Linked DNA regions of Homo sapiens: region 2 is linked to region 1. The links are contacts of gene promoters, found by promoter capture Hi-C in blood cells and fetal thymus (Javierre and others, 2016). All regions are on one chromosome and are shown on one strand. Each heading gives the region's core, a stretch centred on a gene start or on the middle of the fragment in contact. The rest is flanking DNA. Distances are from core to core; before and after follow the strand shown. Region 1 holds the start of SLCO3A1 (solute carrier organic anion transporter family member 3A1). Region 2 overlaps SLCO3A1 (solute carrier organic anion transporter family member 3A1).

Region 1 (5,978 bases), core at 2,299-4,798:
CGGTGAGTGTTACAGCTCTTAAAGGTGGCACGGACCCAAAGAGTGAGTAGCAGCAAGATTTATTGTGAAGAGCAAAAGAACAAAGCTTCCACAGCGTGGGGGGGGGGGGGGGTGGGGCAGCTTTTGTTCCCTTATTTGTCCCCACTCATGTCCTGCTGATTGGTCCATTTTTCAGAGTGCTGATTGGTCCATTTTACAAACCTCTAGCTAGCTACAGAGCACCGATTGGTGCGTTTTTACAGAGCACTGATTGGTGCATTTTACAAACCTCTAGCTAGCTACAGAGTGCTGATTGGTGCATTTTACAATGCTCTTGTGAGACAGAAAAGTTCTCCAAGTCCCCATCCGACCCAGGAAGTCCAGCTGGCTTCACCTCTCACTCCCACCAATTTGGGGTGGCAAATGTAGACTCAATTCCTGCCACTTGCTGGCGGTGAGCTCCCAAAATCCACCTACTGTTGTTTCTTTTGAGAAAAAAAAGGGGCTAATAAGACCAGCTCTCCCTGTTGTAAGCTTCAGCTGAGATACAGGACATAGAAGTACTTCATAAGCATTAACGTGCTGTACAGATACAAGGATGTTTACTATTTTTCTGCTGCTTCCTCTATCTGCATACGGGGCTAGGGGAATGCCAAGCAGAAGCACTTGGTGCTCATAAACCCACCTTATCATCCCTGGAGCCCTGATCTACAAGTAAATAAAGGATGAGCAAAGAAGGAAGGGAGTTGAACTTGTTAAATTCCTTCTTTCTGACTGTTGTGAGGCCGCAGCCTGATTTCCCTGAGGCTGACTTTGATGATTCTTTAGGCTTCAGGCACCAGGATTACTTTCATGGCTGCTTACCATTAATTATAGGAAGAATCCACAACCCTAATCCGAAATCCTTTATCTGACAGCAAAAGTGTGTGATTTCTCTAAAGACAGCTAATTTTTTAATCTAAAATAAATGGTTAAGCTGAAAGAAGGCTGTGCCCTTCTCAGTCTGTACATGAGGCATTGTGGCATAGAACAAAAAGGGCTGGCCGGGCGTGGTGGCTCATGCCTGTAATCCCAGCACTTTGGGAGGCTGAGGCAGGTGGATCACCTGAGATCAGAGTTCGAGACCAGCCTGACCAACATTAAGAAACCCCGTCTCTATTAAAAATACAAAATTAGCCGGGTGTGGTGGCACGTCTGTAATTCCAGCTACTCCAGAGGCTGAGGCAGGAGAATCACTGAAACCCGGGAGGTGGAGGTTGCCATGGGCCGAGATCGCACCATTGCACTCCAGCCTGGGCAACAAGAGCGAAACTCCATCTCAAACAAACAAACAAACAAAAAAGAACAAAAAGGGCTGGACATGGATGCAAGTTTTGTTCCTTTCCAGCTTTATAAAAGAGGAACAACATAAGTCCCAGCCTCCCCATCAGATGAACCACACTGCGTGATAAACGAGATAATATGTATGTAGTTATAAAGAACCTGGGCTATGATGGCAGACAACCTGGTTTTCAAAGACTTGCCCTGCCACTTACTAGACAAGTGACACTGGTCAGGTTAACCTTTCTAGGCCTCAGTTGTCTCATCTGTAAAACAAGGCTAATAATAGTATCTGGTTTAGAGGATTGCTGTGAGGATTACGTTGTAAATGCGGGTGAAGCACTGAGAATGGTGTCTGGCCATAATAAGCACACAGTAAACATTAGCTCTTGTTATTACAAAGAATGTAAATAAGAGTTGAAGACTATAAAGCACTCCGCACATTTCATTAGCAATGGGGTCACCATTCGTAGACAAGTCTCAGCTCAGCTTTGCAGCTTACCGTCACAGAGGCAGGGAACAGAGCTAGCTTGTCAAGGGTCTTCTCAGGAGGAAGTGGGGAGGTAGCCCATGAAGCAAAGTGATGGGGAGGGAAAGAGGGGGACATAAAGATCCTGCAGAGAAGTTGGCTCCGAGTGATAGGAGGGTGTGGGGAAGAAAGAAGGGGGCAGTAAGGATTCTCATTATAGGACTGGCCGGGAATGGTGTGACCACTGATTCAGGAAGTGGGGAAGACGGGAAGAGACTTCAAGTGTGGGGGGAGCCAATTCAGATAGGAGGTGGCCTAGACAAGGTGAGGGCATCTCAAAGCGACACCAAGCCTGGGTGAGATCACGTCTGGAGCCACAGAAGGATGAAGCAGTTTATATTTAAATGCCATGGCAAAACAACATCCCCACCATTACACCCTCCATTCTCATTCAAGTTCTTCGGGAGAAAGGAAAAATATGGTCGGGTTCATTGCTATTCAGTTTTGAAGTTGAGCCTGCATTTGGACACAGGCGCTTGGGAGAGTGGGTCATTTTCTTTGACACAATTATTAAGGAAACCGTTTTAAATGATTCCTTGAGTCCCCCAATGGCCCAGGTGGAAGGTGCTGTTTCCTGGTACCTGTCCAGCCCTCTGAGCTTTTCTCTCAGCTTCCAAACGCTGCAGTTGAGAACTAGCAGATCCTATTGGTAGTGCCCTGTGGCCCACACTCCTTGGTAACGGTGAGAGTGGGGAGTAATTAGGAGCGGCTGCCATGGGCCAGGCATTCAGGTCAAGGCCGAGGATGGTGGCCAGGGCCACAGAGCCAGGGGACGGGTGGGGACCCAGCAGGCCTGCGGCTGGCCGCTTGCTGAGCGCTCCAGCAGCGGGGCCCTGGGCGGATGAAGGGCCGGAGAAGGCCCTCTGCTGGGGCCGCGGCGATCTTGCAGCGCCTGGACACCGAGGCTGGGGCACTAACGGTCCGTGGGGCTCCCGACGTATTCCTCTAACTTCCCCTTTCTGTCCTTTCGGTCTGGGGCCTTTTCAACACCCCCTGTGGCCGGGGACAGCTGGGGCAGAAACCGGCAGGCGGCAGAAGCCTCAAGCAGCTCTGACCTCTGGCACCTCCCCAAGACCCAGAGCACAACATCTGTCCCCAGAAATCCCCGGGCGGAGAAGAGCGCGCGCCAAGCCCTTCCTGGGTACTCAGTATTCTCCCTTCCTGGGAACAGCCTGCCCTCTGAGGCCTGGGCACCCGGGTTCCCGAGCGCCGGGTCCCAGCCCCGCGGGGGCGCCTCCGCACCCCATCTCCGCGCCCGGCGCAGAGCCGCCAGTCTCCGCCGCGGGGCCCCGTGCCCCGCAGCGCCACCTAGGGGCCGGGCGCCGCCTCCCGCCCTCAGGGGCACCCCCCTTACTCCGCAAGGACTCCGGGTCTCCCCAGTTCTCCCGGCAGCCGGACCCTCCCAGCCTCGGCCGCCGGGCCGCCCTCCGCATCCCAAGCCCGCCTCCCGTGCCTCCCCGGGGGCGCACCGGCAGCGAGGAGCGGCTCGGCGAGGGCGCGCAGCGGCGGCCCAGGCCCAGGCCTTGGGGCTGGGGCTGAGGGGGTGAGAGCAGGCGCGGCCGGCGGGCAAGGGGAACCGGGCGATGGCAGCGGCGGGCGGCCGCGGGAGGCGAGGCAGCGGCGGCGGCGGGCGGCGCGACGAGCCCCTGTGATTGGCACAGCCGGAGCCGGAGGAGGAGGCCAGGGGAGGGCGGAGGCGGGGGAGGAGGAGGAGGAAGGGGCGATCGCGGCGGCGGCGGCGGCGGCGAGGAGCTGTGCCTTCCACCTCTCCAGCCCCGGCAGGACGGGGGCGGCCGCCGCGAACCCGGGGCGGGGACAGCACGCAGCCTCGAGGCGCGCACCCCCGCCCGGCAGCGGCCCCGACACCCGGGGCGAGCGGGAAAGCGGCAGCGGCGGCGGCGGCGGCGGCGGCGGGGGAAGGATGCAGGGGAAGAAGCCGGGCGGTTCGTCGGGCGGCGGCCGGAGCGGCGAGCTGCAGGGGGACGAGGCGCAGAGGAACAAGAAAAAGAAAAAGAAGGTGTCCTGCTTTTCCAACATCAAGATCTTCCTGGTGTCCGAGTGCGCCCTGATGCTGGCGCAGGGCACGGTGGGCGCCTACCTGGTGAGTCCCCGAGCCAACTCCGCCGCGGGCCCCTTCCCCAGCCCGGCTCTCGAGCGGCCGCCTGGCCCGACGAGGGGGCCGCCCGGCGCTGGGGGCAGGCGGGCATGACCTCGGCCCGGCGTGGAGGTTGGCGAGTGGTGCAGAGGCGGCCGCCGGGGGAGCTGCCGGCCGGGGCTGCCAGCGAGCGGGTAGCGGGCGGGACCGTTGATGCCGGTAGCAGCTCGCGCGCGTCCGGCTGGGGCAGGGGGTGCCGGGGGAGGAGAGGCGGCGGGCAGGTGGGCGTGAAACTATTCCTCTCCCCCCATAAGAGCGGAGCGAGACGGTGAGTTCAGGGTTCTCCTTGGAGAGGAACGAAAAAGCGTCGGGGTTTTCAGGTGACCTGCACATGGGAAGAAAAACCAGTTAGCATCCTGCGTCCTCTACTCTCCATTGCATCCTCCTCGAGAACAAATCTATTATGCATCATTTTCTCCGGGCGCTTTCTACATCCGCCAATTACAGGGGGATATAACAGCTTAGAGTGAAATGCGCCCTAGTGTGGCCCTGGCCTGAGCCGGGGCTGCAGGGGGAATATTGCCACCCGGTATCCCTATAGCCCTCTTTGAGCGTCTGGGATAAAGTTACGGTACCTAGAGAGCAGCTGCGAGTTTGTGTAGTTCCTGCTATCCACTCTTAGTGCTAAATTCCCCATCGTGGTCTGTCGCCTACAGAAGGTTGCACCATTTTCCACAATGAATATGTATTTTATTTGCCTCCAGAAAGGGGATGTTAATGCTCAGAGGGCCCATGGGTGCGTAACATTTCAGAGGAAACAGCTTGTAATGACTCAGCACTGTCAGGTACCTACTTTGTCGCTTTCGCCTCCTCTGCTCAGGTGGTCGCAACTTGAGTTCCAGAGAGCGTGCTTCCACACCTAAGTACAGTCCTGTCTAAACGGGAAATTTTTTTTGAGAGTTTATAGTGTTAAATCATTACTTGGCTATTGACCCGCAACTGGAATCAAATGTCATAGACTTTGAGTATTCCTGAGCAAGTTTGATGGAGATAGAATTGGACAAGATTTTGGCCATTGAATAACCACATCCAGAGATAGAACCACGCGTATCCTGATGCTATGATTAATCCCTCATTCCTGGCCTTGGGGTAAAGTTCATGAGGGCCAGACGCTGGGGGCTGTATACCATTCATAAACTATCTCTTAAGGCTCAGGGCTCACTGTTAAAGGGAAATACAAGCAGTGCTTGGTCTCCGGTGTTGAGGAAGTTAGGTGGTTGTGAGAGAGGGGGTCTTCAAACTCAGCTCTGTTCCTGGGGTGACAGAATTTCAGGGCTTTTGAAAATCAAATACATTTCTGTTGCTCATTCTGAGACGAAAAGCGTTTACATCCCGGTCTCTGTCTTGTGCATTCGTAACTTGTAGACTGCAAGTGAACCCTGTAGTCAAAAGCATACCTTGTTTTCTGTTCTATAAAATACACTTATTGTGTCTATAGTTATAATATGCAGTTGCAGACAGTACCTATTAGCCCTTGGAATTTGAGGGATAGGGGATAATTGTGTTTTGGGAGTCAGTTTATCGGCACTTCCTTAGGGGAAATTTAACTGTTAAAATATTTAAATAAGTACATGTATTACAGAGATGCAAATTCACATTAATAAAATATATGTGGGTCTGTACTGTGACATATGCAAAGTACATAATACCTAACCGGGTCTATGTTTAGAAGGAGGTAATTAGTATATCAACAGCTGCCTCCACTTTAACGGTTTGTTTGCCTCAAACCAATTTTGCTCGGTAGAGTGCATTATTCATGTGTGGCAAACACCCGCAGAACTTTTCACCCCAGGAGTGATAAAAGCGTGGGCTTACTATTTTTCGGTTGCAGTGATCTAAGGATTTGACAAATAAATGAAGCTGGGCTGCAACTAGATGAATGGCCTAGCTCCTTTAGAAAGTTAAGAAGCCGAGTACTCCTGGAGTGGTGGACTTCTGGAGGCAGGGCTGGCCCCAGGAGATAGGAGGTTGACTTTAATCCCAGAACAGGGGAAT
Region 2 (5,978 bases), core at 907-3,406, 240 kb after region 1:
GTAGCCCCTCACCATCATGTACTCTCATCTTGGTACTGCTCCTGATATCATGTGATAGATTTGTGTTTGTTGCCATTCTTCAAACTCCACAAGGGTGAGGTTTTCATCTGTTTTGTTCACTGCTATGTCCCATAGTGTTCACTGTTGCTGACATAGTCCTAGCAAGTAGGAGGTTCTCAGTGGGTATTTGTTGACCGAGAGTGGTGGAAAGTCTTTCTAATAAGACAGGAAGCTTCTTGAGGGCAAAATTCTTGTCCAAGTTATCTTTTCTTCCCCAGGGTCCAGAGGTGGCTGGTGCTGAATTTAAAGATTATATAGTGCGGGAAAAGGCAGACTCACCACCAGGAAGTCTTGCTGGAGGTCGTTTTCTTAAGGAATTTGCCGTAGTGTATACCTAGACTAATCTGTCATGGGCAGAAACTCTTCATCATCTGGGTATAAGTTGAGATAATAAGCTTCTCAGGCAAATTTGCAACAGAGGGTCCCAAACTTACTTGGTTCACAGCGTCCTGAGTCCAAAAGAAATACGTAGTAGTTTTGTTTATCAAGCAGTTAGGCTCATACTGCTTAGTAAGTGTTGCTATCCTCACAACATAGAGTAGCTGCTCGAAAACCATGATACGTATCAACAGAAAATATATATATATTTTAGTCATAATCGCTTACTAATGGGATGTGTGTCCCTGTTGGCAACTGCACAGTTTCTGAAACCTTGGAATCAGATTGGACATTGCCACCCTCATTTTCTGTGCATATTGATTTCCACACTTGGTTTTCTCACAGCAACTATGGAAAACTCAGCTCACAAAGATGTAATGTCACTGAAAGAAATCCAGTGTTGACACCATAGGCTACCTTGGGATAGTAGATTCACATGTCCAAGAGATGTCAGGTATTGCTGTGTTTCCCTTAGAAACTCAAGATATTCTGCCTTACCCCTGTGAGTTCACTGCAGTACCCAATGGTGTCCCAGCACAGTCTGTAAACTGAAGATTTGTGCTAATTCACTGAAGGCCTGTGTACAGAATGCCAGAGCCAGATCACCATGCAGGGGAGCACTGCATTCAAACCCTTGTCCCCTTGTCCAGCCATCTCATCCCTGGGAGGTCGGGCTGGCAACCCAGTGTGCCAATGTGCTTGGCTTGGCAAGCAGCAGATCAGTGGGGTGGACTCCGGACATCCAGTCAGTCTGGATGCTGATGAGGCTTGAGATTACAGCTGTTTCCCAGCAAGAACTCCTTCCTGGGCCTGGCCTGCTCCCAGCTCCAGCCCCTCTCCCCCAAAGATAGCTTTAAGAAATGAGGTATGGAGGGTGTAGTGAGCTTTGGAAAGAGAAGGACTGGGAACCCAGGTGGGTGCCAGCCCTCGTTGTAGGAGAGTCACAGGTGTCATCTATTTAACAAACCCTTCCCTGGGTCTTTCTGTATGCCAGACACTTTTCTAAGAGGTTTGCAAATAGGAGGTCATTCAATCCTCACCACAACCCCATGAAGTCGATCTATTGTTACCCCCACTTTACAGAAGAAGAAGCTGAGGCATGGGAGGTTAAATGTACTTTGCCCAAAGGTTCATGGAGCTGGGAAGTGGTAGAGCTGGGATTTGAACCCAGGCTGTTCATACTCTCACCTGGACTTTTCCCTTAGGGGGTTAGAAAACCTGGGCAATCCTTCCCACTGTGCTGCTTTCTAGCAACGTGCTGGGGCCAGGTGCTGAACCACTCTAAGATTCTGTTTTTCCGCTGTGAAACAGGCCCAGTAAACTTCCCCCTGGGGTCATTGAATGGCTTCCAGGAGATCAGGCATGTAAAGTGCTTTCAATTATCCAGGGTAGTAGCAAAGAAAGCCTTCAGACCTCCCTGACTAGGGAATCCCAGGCTCTCCTCCCCACCGACATACATGAACCTGGAAGACAGCAGGGGGCAGCACCGGGCCGCTGCAGAAGGTTCTGCACCTGGAGGCGCTGGCCCTTCCTTCCACAGGGATCCTGCATCTCAGTACCTGGCAATCTGCTCCTCCTCCATTCAGGCAGAACATTCGAGCTGGCTTTGCCAAAACAAGAACAAAATCACAGCCTGGCAGGATGAATTAAGGGGGAAACCAAGGAAGAAAGCTCAGCATAACCGTTGTTAGCTCAGAACCTGCCTTGCACATCTGGGCCTTCTGAAGCTGCTCGTTTCAGTTGTTAAGATATTTCTGAAGGCACTTCCCGATGCACGAAGGCCCCTCCCACGTCCCACCACCGGACTGTCCTTTGAAAAAGGTTCGAGAACGCGTTGCAGGTGGTGGTTTACCTTGAGGTCCGTGTGACGAGGAGCGACATAGAAAAGTGACCAGAGGTTGCACCTGAGGAGGAAGATGCCTTTTATACCAAAATACGTGTGCACAATGTCTTTGGTGTTTGGCGTGGGGTCCTATCAACTCCGTCCTGTTCCTTTTTAGCTTATCTTTGTTCAGCTGAAACCCAGATGAGAACAGGACCTTGAAAAAGCCACAATCCAAACTCTGGAAACCCACACCTTCTCATAGAGGAATTTGGTGGAGAGGCTGCCTCAGGGTGTGGTGTCTCCACAGCAGGCCACTGCTGTTCCCTGTTCAAGCCACCATCCCCAGTCACTGGCCCATCTGGGCCCTGTGGGGCTCCTGTGGACAGCTGAGGCCAGCAGCTTGAGGGACGCCCCTCCTTTTCTGCAAGAGGGCAGGAGGCCTGGGACCCCAATTGTGCTATGATGTCTGGCTAGTCCTCACTTTCAACTGTACTGTCCCCAAGCATGGGGATAACAGCACAGTCTCGATGCAACCCCTTCAGCTTGTTGGTTGTTTCTGTTTTTCCAAGGATGCTGAAGGCTTGGTCCTTTGACCCATTAAGTATTAATAATAATTCTCATTATTCAGTCTGTAGGGCATGGATCAGTGACGAATACATTGCTTGGGGGATTTATTTAAGGGAAGAAGGGCTATGATTATGGGTGATGGGGGAGGTGCCGGGAGTCACAGCAGATGAGTCAAGAAGGGTAGGCACAGCACCCATGGCAAGAGAATTGTATCCCTGTGCTCTGTGTCCCGTTCTTTTGGGAAGGCCTGAGCAGTGAGTTTGTTTGCTGAGCCGTCTCTAGAGTGCCAGTAACTCTGACTGCTGGCTTACCACAGCCTGCAGCCTGGATGGGAGGATATGACTGGCTTCAGGACTTTGCAGGAATCTCTCTGGTCTAGTGTGGGTGCCGCTTCTGACTCGGACAACTGTTCTCCATGCCCTCTACTTCCTGCTGCTTTCTCAGATCCTCTTCCTGCTGCTCTGCTCCCTAACCACAACCCCACTAAATAGAGCCCCCTAATTCTAGCCCATTCCGAAAGATCTTTTCCAGTAACATCCCCTGCCCCCAACTTTGTGTGCTTGGTTATCTTAAAGTTATGACAAACCAGAGATAATGTGCTGATCATGTGAACGTCACTCCTCTCCAAAGTGACACATTTTCATTTTCTAAAATGCACCTTATTAACAGAAATAAGATTCTACAGTTTCTGGTTGGCCATGGAGTGACTATTTGGAAACAGTGGAACTTCCAGATTTCTTCGCATCCAAGTAGGATTTTGCTGAGGGTGGACTCAGCCCTGTTTCTGTGATATAAAACATTTTCTTCATTCTTTCCTTCATCAGACATCTCCTATAAGCCCCGTTCAAATGACTGCTTCAGGGTTCTGGGTTCCCGTGTGTAAATGTGTGTTAGTTCATTCTTGCCTTGCTATAAAGAAATACCTGAGGCTGGGTAATTTACAAAGAAAGGAGATTCGAGTGGCTCGGGGTTTTGCAGACAGTACCGGAAGCATGGTGTTGGCATCTGCTCCTGGTGAAGGTCTCCAGAAGCTTCCAATCATGGCAGGAGGCAAAGGGGGAGCAGGCACATTACGTGGCGAGAGCCAGAGCAAGAGGGAGAAGGGGAGGTCCCAGATTCCTTTAAACAATCAGATCTTGTGTGAACTGAGTGAGAGCACACCCATCACCAAGGGGGCGGTGCTGAGCCATTCATAAGGGGTCTGCCCCCATGATCTAATACCTCCCACTAGGCCCCACCTCCAATATTATGGATTACACTTCAACATGAGATTTGGAGGGGACAAACATGCAAACTATATTACGCGGCTTCCTTTGCCCGGTATTTAAAAACCATTTGCCTTCCTCTGTGTAGTTTAAGTTGTTTTTCCCCACCTCAAGTCAATGAATGAGTTCGGAGGAGGGAAAGCTTCAAGTCAGCGAGGCTAGGATTTTTACTGGTTGGTTCAATGCTGAATCCCCAACCCTGAGAATAGTACTTGGCACATAGAAGGAGCTCAGTAAAACTTGACTGAATGGATGAATATGTGATTGGTTCCACAATGACATCACCGAGAGAATTTAGGGTGAGTTGGTCTACGCCTATGAACAGACTAGGCTGGAGAGCTACCCTCCACTGGGCTTAGGTTCCCAGCAAGTGACATTCATCTCTCACCCTGCTCTCCAGGTGCCCGTGTGGCCTGTTAGCACCCAACCTTGGAGCTGCCTGGCCTGGAATTACCCATGCACTGACTGTCCTCATCAGATGGCCAGCTTCTAAAGGGAAGGGCCACTTTCTGGACTCTTATTTTTGCCTCCAGGGCCTGGAGAACTGTCAGTGCTCAAGAAATGTCTACCAAATTGAAATTTAAATAGATACAGCCTGTGGGTTTGAATTTGGGATCAGTACTTTTCCCAGAATGTCCTAAAATTTCTGTGTAAAATACCAGGTATTGTATCGATCAGATACTTAAGCACTGCCCAGAGCCTGCCATTTTCTCAAGTGCTACAGAATCACTTAATTCCTGAACAGCTGTTACAAGCAGCCACAACAACAGTGGAAACAGATAATGACTTCAAAACGTGGACAGAAATTGAAGAATTGAAATTAATAAATGTGTAATTAAATGTTAGATATTTACCATCGTGTGAACTTTGTTATTTGCTGAATTTCGGAGTCTTGAACGTTTTATTATATTTGAAAATAATTTGTGGCATAGATTATCCTCACTTCACAAAAAATTCTTGAGTTTGCACAGTGGGTGTCAAGGGATCTTAGCCAACCATAAATTAAATAAGTTACATAAAAGTAAGTAAATGTAAAAGCAAAATTATAAAAGCCTTTTCAAAAGTGTGGATGGCAGAAAAAATATTTAATGATAGATGCGGATGTATTTTAATATGTTTGATGTGGGGTGAAGTCCTCTAAAAGTAAGGGACACAAATTTCAAAGCAACCTACCTGAAATACTATAGAATTGTAGCATAATATACAGTGCTTTCATAGAGTTTCCAAAAATTAGAAATTCAGCCTTTCCCCTCTAGGATTTTTAGATGAATTCCTAATGTCATCTCATCTCATCAATGTAAAATAATCTCCTTGACCTTTGGTGATTTTGCTCATCGAATAGCTTCTGTTTTGTAATCTATTTTTTTCTTCATCTTCCTTCAGGAATCCTGTTCACGATGCTGGTATTTGGACCAGCCTGCGGGTTTATCCTGGGCTCTTTCTGTACCAAAATCTACGTGGATGCGGTCTTCATTGACACAAGTAAGGAATATATCTCCATGTCTACCTTCCATCCGCAAGCGTTTCCTCCCTCATAAATGCGGCTTCAGCCTGTGGGTTCTAAAACCTTCTTGCTAAGAGACAGTCTTGATGCCCCTGCCTCTGTAGCTGGGGCTCACCCGAGATTAGATGAAAGAACGTGAGTGTTGGTTCAGAGGGCCTGACTCAAGTCTGGGTTCTGCCAACATCTACCTAGAGGCTGAATAACCCCCAATAGCTGATTTTACTCCTCAAATCTGTATTTTCCTTATCTGTAAATAAAGGGTAACAATAATTACATCGGCCTGGCAGATAAGAATTTAATGAGAGTGTCTGTGTAGAAATGCTTGGCATATCCTCATTGAGTGGGGGCCCATTAACCTATATGAGGATCCTACTTTCCA

Evidence for each region. Contacts are between HindIII fragments. The CHiCAGO score rates a contact against its expected background, and 5 or more counts as called.
Region 2: a contact is called between a fragment that was not itself captured here and the fragment with the promoter of SLCO3A1 in region 1, in 2 of 17 cell types (M1 macrophages and non-activated CD4 T cells). The highest score is 5.5, in M1 macrophages.

The regions. Positions count from the first base shown.
Region 1 is chr15:91,850,160-91,856,137 of GRCh38, forward strand. SLCO3A1 (solute carrier organic anion transporter family member 3A1) reads left to right here and starts at 3,549. Exons shown (of 10, transcript NM_013272.4): 1 at 3,549-3,929. The coding sequence starts at 3,750. RefSeq lists silencers at 2,971-3,145, 3,014-3,153. The HindIII fragment of the contact is 9,711 bases long and covers 512-5,978 here.
Region 2 is chr15:92,089,403-92,095,380 of GRCh38, forward strand. SLCO3A1 (solute carrier organic anion transporter family member 3A1) reads left to right here. Exons shown (of 10, transcript NM_013272.4): 3 at 5,479-5,577. Among named protein-coding and RNA genes, the nearest start is that of SLCO3A1, 240 kb to the left of the region's middle. RefSeq lists an enhancer at 1,530-2,266. The HindIII fragment of the contact is 3,406 bases long and covers 454-3,859 here.